3 separate regions of the Homo sapiens genome follow, and all the other regions are linked to region 2. Evidence: promoter capture Hi-C in 16 types of primary human blood cells and fetal thymus (Javierre and others, 2016). All regions are on one chromosome and are shown on one strand. The core of a region is centred on a gene start or on the middle of the fragment in contact, and the rest is flanking DNA. Distances in the headings are between cores, read along the strand shown. Region 1 has its middle 13 kb from the start of MIR5692C1. Region 2 holds the start of CXCL14 (C-X-C motif chemokine ligand 14). Region 3 has its middle 58 kb from the start of MIR5692C1.

Region 1 (2,965 bases), core at 178-2,677, 240 kb after region 2:
TGCTTCTTCCAGGATGGGTCAGATGGTCCCTGTTACACAGACAAAATATGAGTCATCAGAAAGGCTAGTGTCCCTCTCCTTCTAGATGGTGCAGTCTGTCTGGGCAGCAAGCATGCTTTTCCTGCAGAGTAGGGGCTAGAAGCACAGGCTCCGGAGTCAGAGGGACCTGGGACCAGGCACCCAGACACACTGACCTCAAGTGCCGCATCTCCAGGATGGTGCTCTGAATCCCCAGCCCTGGTGTGATGACAGTTACATGTGAGAGTATGCTTAAACTGTTTCCTTGGCACAGTTCCTGGTGCTGATTCCCACCTCCATCATTCTACAGCCCTGGACAAGTCATCGTTTGTCTCAGCTGGATCATCCAGGCTGGTCTCTGGGCATGAAGGCCTAGTGAGGATTCAGTGAGGCCATGGGGCCATGGGAGGCCACTGCCTCGTGAACTGGCAGGGCCTTACTGTGATGGGCCCACAGAGTACTGTGGGTTCTGCTAGACCAGATGCTGGAGCTGTGGGCCTTTTGTTACCTCCCAGTTTGATTAAGTTTCATCTTACACAGTGAATTATGTGCATTTCCTCTTGGGCTCTGTGCTGGCTGGGATAACTGAGGGCCTGCTATGGAGATCCTGGAACCCTGACTTTCACAGCATCTGTGAGGTGGATGTACTCTAAAGCAGCGGTCCCCAACCTTTTTGGCACCAGGAACCAGTTTGGTGGAAGACCACTTTTCCACAGAGAGGGGGAAGGCATGGTTGTGGGATGAAACAGTTCCACTTCAAATCATCAGGCATTAGTTAGAGTCTCATAAGGAGCATGAAACCTAGATCCCTCACATGCACAGTTCACAACAGGGTTTGTGCTCCTATGAGAATTTCATGCCCCCCACTGATCTGACGGGAGGTGGAGCTCAGGTGGTAATGTTCTCTTGCCAGCTGCTCACCTCCTGCTGTGTGGCCTGGTTCCTAAAAGGCCACAAATCAGTACCAGTCCATGGCCTAGGGGTTGGGGACCCCTGCTATAAAGGCACCAAAAGCTGCTTGCAGGTAAGGAAGAGCATCAACCACACAGAAAGGCCTGAGGGGCTGCCTTTGAACTCTCTCTATGTATGGGTAAGGGCAAAGGCTAGCACATATTGTGGAATGAAGAAAGCAAGTTGCAGTGAGAGTTTCCTTTATGTAAAATTAGTTCTATCCATCCATGTCTACAGATGCACATGGACACAGGGGCAGGCCTGGAGCCACATTCACCAAGCCAGAAGGGATACGTGTAGTCAGTGCACCTTCCCAGAGTGCAGATATTCTCTGTCACCTGCATGTTCTTGCCATATCTGATTATGACCTGTAATACAGATATTTAAACAGACTCATATTTTTATTTTAAAAAAATCTACTCACTCTTGTCCCAAGCAAAAGTATCTGAAAAATCATGGCTTAGATGTTGTATTAGTCTATTTTCACACTGCTGTGAAGATACTACCTGAGACTGGGTAATTTATAAACAAAAGAGGTTTAATTGACTCACAGTTCCATATGGCTGGGGAGGCCTCAGGAAACTTACAGTCATGGCGGAAGGTGAAGGGAATTAGGTGCCTTCTTCGCATGGTGGCAGGAGAGAGAGAGCGTGCAGGGAAAGCTGCTATTTTTAAAACCATCAGATCTCGTAAGAACTCCCTCACTATCACAAGAACAGCACGGGGGAAACCATCCCCATCATCCAATTACCTCCCACCAGGTTCCTCCCTCAACATGTGGGGATTACAATTGGAGATTAGATTTGGGTGGGGACACAGAACCAAACCATATCAGATGTGGTAACTATATTTTTTCTAACATATATTACATAAAATATATTACATTAATTTGCTACTAAAATAAAAACAGTTAACCTGTGTGTCATCTAAAATCGTTTTTCATATAGTGCTTTTGTACAACTGGCAAAGTGATTAAACACTTCGCTTCAGAATCCAACTACCAAAATTTGAATTCCAGCCCTGCCATTTGCTACTGTCTATTACTCAATAAATTCTTACCCTCTCTAAACCTCATTTTCTTATCTTTACATAGGGATGATCATTGGTAACTACCTGATAAGATTATTCATAAGAAATAAAATAATCAATGAAGAATGACTAGTGTAGTTTCTGGCACAGAGTAACCACTCAAATAAATGAGACTGTTAAAAGTTGGTTATTAGGGACTTCTGCTTATAGTCATGGTGAGGTAACTGGTACTAGATTTGCCCTCCCACTATAAACAACAAGAAAACTGAATAAAATAAGAAACCACTATTTAAAGATGATGGAAAACAGAAAACACAGGACAATGATCCAAAGAGAAAGAGAACAAATGAGGTGAGCCCTAAAATTACCTCAGCTTTCAACCTGAAGGCATTCTTTAGAATGTAACATTGTATTTGACAATTTCACTGTACACAATTAGATCTCAATAAAACCAGCTAAAAAAGAGAGACATAAAAACCCCAAAATATTTAGAGATAAATTTAACATATATGAAACTGCAGAGGACCTAGAATATATTTTTGTTTATATTGTAAAAATATAAAAATGTATTTTAGAAAGAGCAAAGTTGGCAGACTATCCTAGCTATCAAGGAATATAGCAAATTTATAGCAGCAGTGCTCAATGGGGCCAATTTCCCCCCCAGGGAACATCTGGCAAAGTTGGGAGACATTCTTTATTGTCATTACTCTGGAGGGAGGAGAGCAGTATGATATTGGCATCTAGTAGGTAGAGGCCAGAGATGCTGCTAAACATCCAACAGTGCACAGGACAATGGCCCGAAACAAAGAATTATCTGGCTTAAAGTATCAATAGTGCCAAGGCTGAGAAACTGTGATCCACAATAAGGCAGTGAGTAGAGATCAATGGAACAGAATAGACAATCCAGGTATGAATCCACATGTATATTACTGATTTTTGACAAATATGCCAGTGTATATCAATGAGG
Region 2 (2,731 bases), core at 205-2,704:
CCTTTGCGCCGGTGGGGGCCAGCTGGTGGAGGGCACTTGCCCAGACTGAGAATAAAGTGCGTCCTGTTTCTGGGGGAGGGGAAGAGGGGCCAATGGTCTGTGGCAAATATTTGGTAGCCGCTTTGCCAAGGGCTCCCTTCCTGGCCAAGAGCATATTGATGAGGAGGCAGCGGTGCTGGCCTCAAGTGGTTAATTGGGAAGGCGGAGGAGCAAGAAACTAAGTGTTCTCTCACTCTGCCCCAGTTTTTCCAACATTCCCCACATCCCCACCAAGCAGGGCTCCAGCCATGTGGCACATTAACCCCAGCAGAGCACTTTCTGCAGTACTGCTCCGTATTGGGGACCCACAAGGAGTACAGTCGGTGAGGGAAGCTCGTGGAGCGTTCTCAAAATAAAATCTCTAGGAGCCAAAAACTTGCGGTCCACTTGTCTCTGACTGGAACAAGGCTCTGAAGGAGACTCAGGATTTAAGATAGTGTTTGCATTAGTCCTCTATCCAGTGACAGGAAGGCAGCACGCCTCACAGTTTGGGTGTGAGTGTGTTTTAAGTGATTTCAGTCTAGGTTTTCTGAGTTGGCACAAGGGAACCCTTTAACCCTTGATGGCCCTAGCAGAGTGGGTGGCCCATGGTACAAATAGGGAGACTGCTCATTTGAATCCTAGCAAGGGTGAACTTGGAGGCGCTGTTCCGGAGCGGGACAGTGACCCCCCTTCCCGACTGTCTTCCAGAGTGTCTCGCCAGCGTCCTAAGGACTCTCTGGGCAATTACAAAGGCTTTTCCAGGGCCTTGACAAAGTCGGAGAGAAATGTTTGTTAGCCCGACCCAGGCCCAGGCTGTGCCCTGGCATTGGGTTGACAGCAGTGCGCACCCCCTCAAGGTGAGGAGCGAGAACTCACATAACCATCTTCTCCTCGCAGTGCGGGTACTTTGGCTTCATTTCCAGCTTCTTCACGTCGCTGTAGCGGATCTTGGGTCCCTTCCGGGAGCACTTGCATTTGGACCCTGCGAGCGAGCGCGGGGCAACGGCTTAGTTGCTAGGCGGTCTCCTGCCCCTCGACCACCTTGGTGCCCACCCAGACCACCCCCCGCGGGATCCCAGGATGCCTAGAAATTGGCGCTTGGGTTCCCCAGGACAGGACAAGACGAGACGGCGACAAGGGGAGCTCCCCGCACTCACCGTCCACACGCGCGGTGTACAGCGCCAGCAGCAGCAGGAGCAGCGCGGCCGCCAGGAGCCTCATGCTGACCGGAGGGGCGCGGCGTGGGAGCAGGGACATGGGGAGGGCGCTGGCCCGTCGGAGCGGCGGCCCGGAGACGCCACCCAGCTCTGCTCGGCTTTCTCTGCCCGGGGCGCGCCTTCCGGCTCTGCTGGCTCCGGCTGCGCCGTCGGTGGATGCCCAGGGCTGTCTGTGGCCGTGCGCTGCGCTCTGCGCTTGTCTCCGCGCTCTCTCCACAGCCTCCCTCCGCCCGCCCTGGCCTCTTTTAAATCCGCTCCTGCCCTCGCAGCGAGCGAGCTCATTAATATGCAGAACCACTCGGTGACTCACTGAGATTTCTCAATGTGGTGAGGGGAGGAGACCTTCCCAGCCCGCCCGTCGCCCGCCCCGGGAAAGGACCCGCTATCGCAGCGGCGCACACCCGGAGCCACGCGCGCACACGCACACACACATCCGCTACCCTCTCGCTCACACAACACGCCGCCTTCGCACACTTGCACACCCATACCACAGCGCGCACACATTTCCAGCGTCCCGCTCTGCCTTTGGGGAGCCCAGACGGTGGAGAGGCTGCTGAAGGGCACTGCTTTTCTGAATCGTGTGGTTCTCTCTCTGGCCCGGCAGGCCAGCTTTTCCGAGCCGGCGGGAGACCCAGGCCCAGGGCTCAGATCCTCAAAGACCTGAAAGGGTTTTGGAGCAGGTGCCAAGTGTGAGTGCCTGCAGGCCTGACCCCCAAGGGCCCCTGCTGGGCCAGAACACAAGGCCAGTTCTGGACAGGGGCTTGTCATAGACTGTCCAGCAGCAAAGTCATTGACTGTGATCACTGGAACTGACTCAAAGAGGGTATGTGTGTGTATGCGGGGGTGGGGACGGGTATTGGGGAGGAGTTTTGGTGACTCCCAAAGGAAAGCTCCTTAAAGTGGGTCAGTGGCCTGGTGGCTGTGTGAGTGTCTGGGTGGTGGGGAGAACCAGGAGGAGTCCTCACTCTCACACTACTCTCCAAAGCCAGGTAGAGAGCCCTAGTGGAGAGCGATGACAGTGGTAACCATCTGGATGAAGGCCTTCCCATGTTCTAGACATTGTGCCAGAATGCGAGGTATAGTGGTGTGAGCCCAGCCATAGTGGCAGAAATTCCCTCCTCACTACTTTCCAGCACAAGTGACTTTACCGCTCTCAGCTTTTGTTTCATCATCTGTAAAGTGCAGATCATCACAGTGTTTCTGATAGGGTGGCTGTGAGAACTATAGAAATCATACATGTTGTCAGTACCCAGGAAATGTTACTTATTGGCACCATCGTTTTATGTCTAATTTATCTATTACTTTGATTCTTACCAATTGGTACTTTTCTTCCAAGTTGGTACTTTTAATTTCTTTATTTGACAGGTGTGGAAACATGCTCTGAGAGAAGAAATAACTTGTCCAAGGTCACAGAGCTAGGAAGCAGGTGACTAGGCCAGGAGGGTCCTCAGTATATACGGCTGCAGAACTGGGACTCCTGTCCCTGGACCACT
Region 3 (3,076 bases), core at 543-3,042, 170 kb after region 2:
GCTCACTGCAACCCACCTCCTGGGTTCAAGTGATTCTCCTGCCTCAGCCTCCTAAGTAGCTGGGATTACAGGTGGCTGCCATCAAGCCTGGCTAATTTTTGTATTTTCAGTAGAGACGGTGTTTCTTTATGTTGGACAGGCTAGTCTGGAACTCCCGACCTCAAGTGATCCACCCGCCTCGGCCTCCCAAAGTGTTGGAATTAAAGGCATGAGCCACTACGCTCAGCCTGGAGACACTTTTCATTGTGACAGGAGAGGTACTGCTGGCATCTGATGGGTAGAGGCCAGGGATTGTGCTAATTGTCCTATGATACAGAGGACAGCCCCCCACAACAAAGAATAATCCTGCTCCAAATGTCAACAATGTGGAGGGTGAGAAACCCTGATAGATAGCAGGCACGTACTAAGTATCTGTCAATGAAACTATCTCATTTCAAATCCTTAACACACGAGGTATAATGGAAAATAAAATGTCTCATTACTGCTCAAATTCAAGTGAAAGTTAAGCCTGGAAACCTCCCAACACTGCTGTCCTCCTCCCCATCAACAGACAGCTGTTACTTCCCAACCTTGGATCAAAGCATTCTACATTAACTAGACCCCTGCAAAAGGCCAAAGGCCTCATGCATCTCCATCGTGGGATGACTGCCCTCACAAATTGCTCCTAAGGAGCTTCTTTGATGGCCCCTAAACCTTTGAAGATGAATATCCTCCCATAAACAAGGACATGTTAACTGTAACTTTAGGACTGTAACCTCAGTCTAACTCCTTGTCTGCTACTGATGTCTGTTAAATGTCACATTGATGATGTCCATCCATTACAAGCTTATCTTCTCACATGCCAAACAAAGACAGGATAAGATTAATCCTTCCTCTCCTACCCTGAGACATCTAATTAATTCTTCTTTTACTCCCTCTTTTGAATGTTTACCTTATCTTCTGTATAGCATAGATATACTGGGCTCTAATTTAAACCTCACAGGAATTTAACTAACTGCCTCAAGGCCTACTGCACTTTTTCCTGCATGCTTTTTCCCCTTTTAAAGAAATATATAAACACGAGCCTCCTGGAACCTCTCCAGGGAGCACAGGCCACAGACATTTCTGTGTTTTCCAGAGCATGCCCTCAAGCTCTGGCTCAATAAACCTCCACTGGTAGAGATGGTTCAGTCTCTCCATTGGATTGACAAGGTAACTATTTTTCTCTCCATTTTTTTTTTCTTTTGAGACAGGGTCTCACTCTGTCACCCAGGCTGGGGGGCAGTGGCATGATCTCAGCTCACTGCAACCTCCACCTCCCCAGTTCAAGTGATCCTCCCACCTCAGCCTCAAGAGTAGGCACGCATCACCATGCCAGCTAATTTTTGTGTTTTTAGTAGAGACAGGTTTCACCATGTTGGCCAGGCTGGTCTTGAACTCCTGACCTCAAGTGATCCACCTGCCTCGGCCTCCTAAAGTGCTGGGATTACAGGCGTGAGCCACCGCACTTGGCCTGTCTCCATTTTTGATGAGGAACCAGAAGCTCAGAGAGGTTATGACTATTGCTGATGGTCACACCACATGGACCCAAGAATCAAACCCAACTCTCTCTTTGAACTCCTTCAAGATTCTCCCCCTTGGCTGGGTGTGGTGGCTAACACCTGTAATCCCAGCTTTGGGAGGCTGAGGCAGGCAGATCACCTGAGGTCTGGAGTTCAAGACCAGCCTGGCCAGCATAATGAAACCCTGTCTCTACTAAAACTACAAAAATTAGCCAGGAGAGGTGGCGGGCATCTGTAGTCCCTGCTACTGGGGAAGCTGAGGCATGAGAATCACTTGAAACCAGGAGGCGGAGGTTGCAGTGAGCTGAGATCATACCACTGCACTCCAGCCTGGGCTACACAGTGCCGAGACCAGCTCGGTTGTGGAGACCCTAACCCAGCAGTGCTAGAGGAATTAAGACAAAGACACAGAAATAGAGTGCAGAGTGGGAATCAGGGGGCTGACAGCCTTCAGACCTGAGAGCCCCGAACAGAGTTTGACCCACATACTTATTGACAGCAAGCCAGTGATAAGCATTATTTCTATAGATCATAGATTAGCTGAAAGCATTCCTTATGGGAAACAAAGGGACAGGCTCTGGCTTGTTATCTGCAGCAGGAACATGTCCTTAAGGCACAGATCGCTCATGCTATTGTTTGTGGTTTAGGAACACCTTGAGCGGTTTTCCACCCAGGGTGGGCCACGTGTTCCTTGCCCTCATTCTGGTAAACCAACAACCTCCAGCGTGGGTGTCATAGCCATCACAAGCATGTCACAGTGCTGCAGAGATTTTGTTTATGGCCAGTTTCTCATGGCCTGTTTATGGCCAGATGTGGGGGGCCTGTTCCCAGCAACACAGCAAGATTCCCTCTGGAAAAAAGGCCAGCGGGGGTGGTGGGAAGAAAAAAAAAGATTCTCCCCCTGCCTCCTGCTTTTTAAGGTCCTTCTGAGCAGGCTCCTAAGGTCCTCCCATCCTTGAATCTGTGCTTCACAGCACTTAAAGCTGTGGTGGTTTAGTTGCTAGCTCACGTGTTTATATTTCCCCTGTTAAGCTAAACTCCACTAGGGCAGTGACCATGCCTGATCCCCAGCTGTGTCCCCAGCACAGCACAGTACCTACGAGGCGGTCAACACACTTCTGTTGAATGAACGGAAGAATCACTCCTCAAAAGGAAGAAAATTATGTCAAGAAAATAGCTGGCAGAGCCAGGATTTAAGTCTGAGGACTCCCTGACTTTGAAGCTTATCCCATTTTCTCTGTGGTCAGTTATTGTCACTCAAACTTCTGTCCCGGATCCTCTTAATTAATGTCCCTTCTGATGCTGCACAGGTTAGTCTTGGCCTCCATCCGTGCCACATCCTTTGCTCTCGCCTTCTACAGTCCTCCTCCCTGTCACTCATTTCAAGCTCCGCCCTCACGCTGCCTACTTTTCATGCTCAGCGCCCTCTAGGCCCCACTCCTCTCCGTATACAATACCTTCTAGCCCGTACCCATCACTCATTCTGCAGATCCCGCTCCCTCCCTCCCATGTGCAGCCTTTTCCAGGCCTGCGCC

What was found. Contacts are between HindIII fragments. The CHiCAGO score rates a contact against its expected background, and 5 or more counts as called.
Region 1: a fragment that was not itself captured here is called in contact with the fragment with the promoter of CXCL14 in region 2 in 1 of 17 cell types (erythroblasts); the score reaches 5.4 in erythroblasts.
Region 3: a contact is called between a fragment that was not itself captured here and the fragment with the promoter of CXCL14 in region 2, in 3 of 17 cell types (M2 macrophages, M1 macrophages and megakaryocytes). The highest score is 6.3, in M2 macrophages.

What each region holds. Positions count from the first base shown.
Region 1 is chr5:135,814,473-135,817,437 of GRCh38, forward strand. It overlaps a transcript of SLC25A48 not described here. Among named protein-coding and RNA genes, the nearest start is that of MIR5692C1, 13 kb to the left of the region's middle. The HindIII fragment of the contact is 6,572 bases long and covers 1-2,965 here.
Region 2 is chr5:135,577,537-135,580,267 of GRCh38, forward strand. It overlaps CXCL14 (C-X-C motif chemokine ligand 14), which reads right to left and starts at 1,455. Exons shown (of 4, transcript NM_004887.5): 1 at 1,179-1,455; 2 at 898-1,003. The coding sequence starts at 1,242. It also overlaps a transcript of SLC25A48 not described here. The HindIII fragment of the contact is 10,061 bases long and covers 1-2,731 here.
Region 3 is chr5:135,743,144-135,746,219 of GRCh38, forward strand. It overlaps a transcript of SLC25A48 not described here. Among named protein-coding and RNA genes, the nearest start is that of MIR5692C1, 58 kb to the right of the region's middle. The HindIII fragment of the contact is 1,938 bases long and covers 824-2,761 here.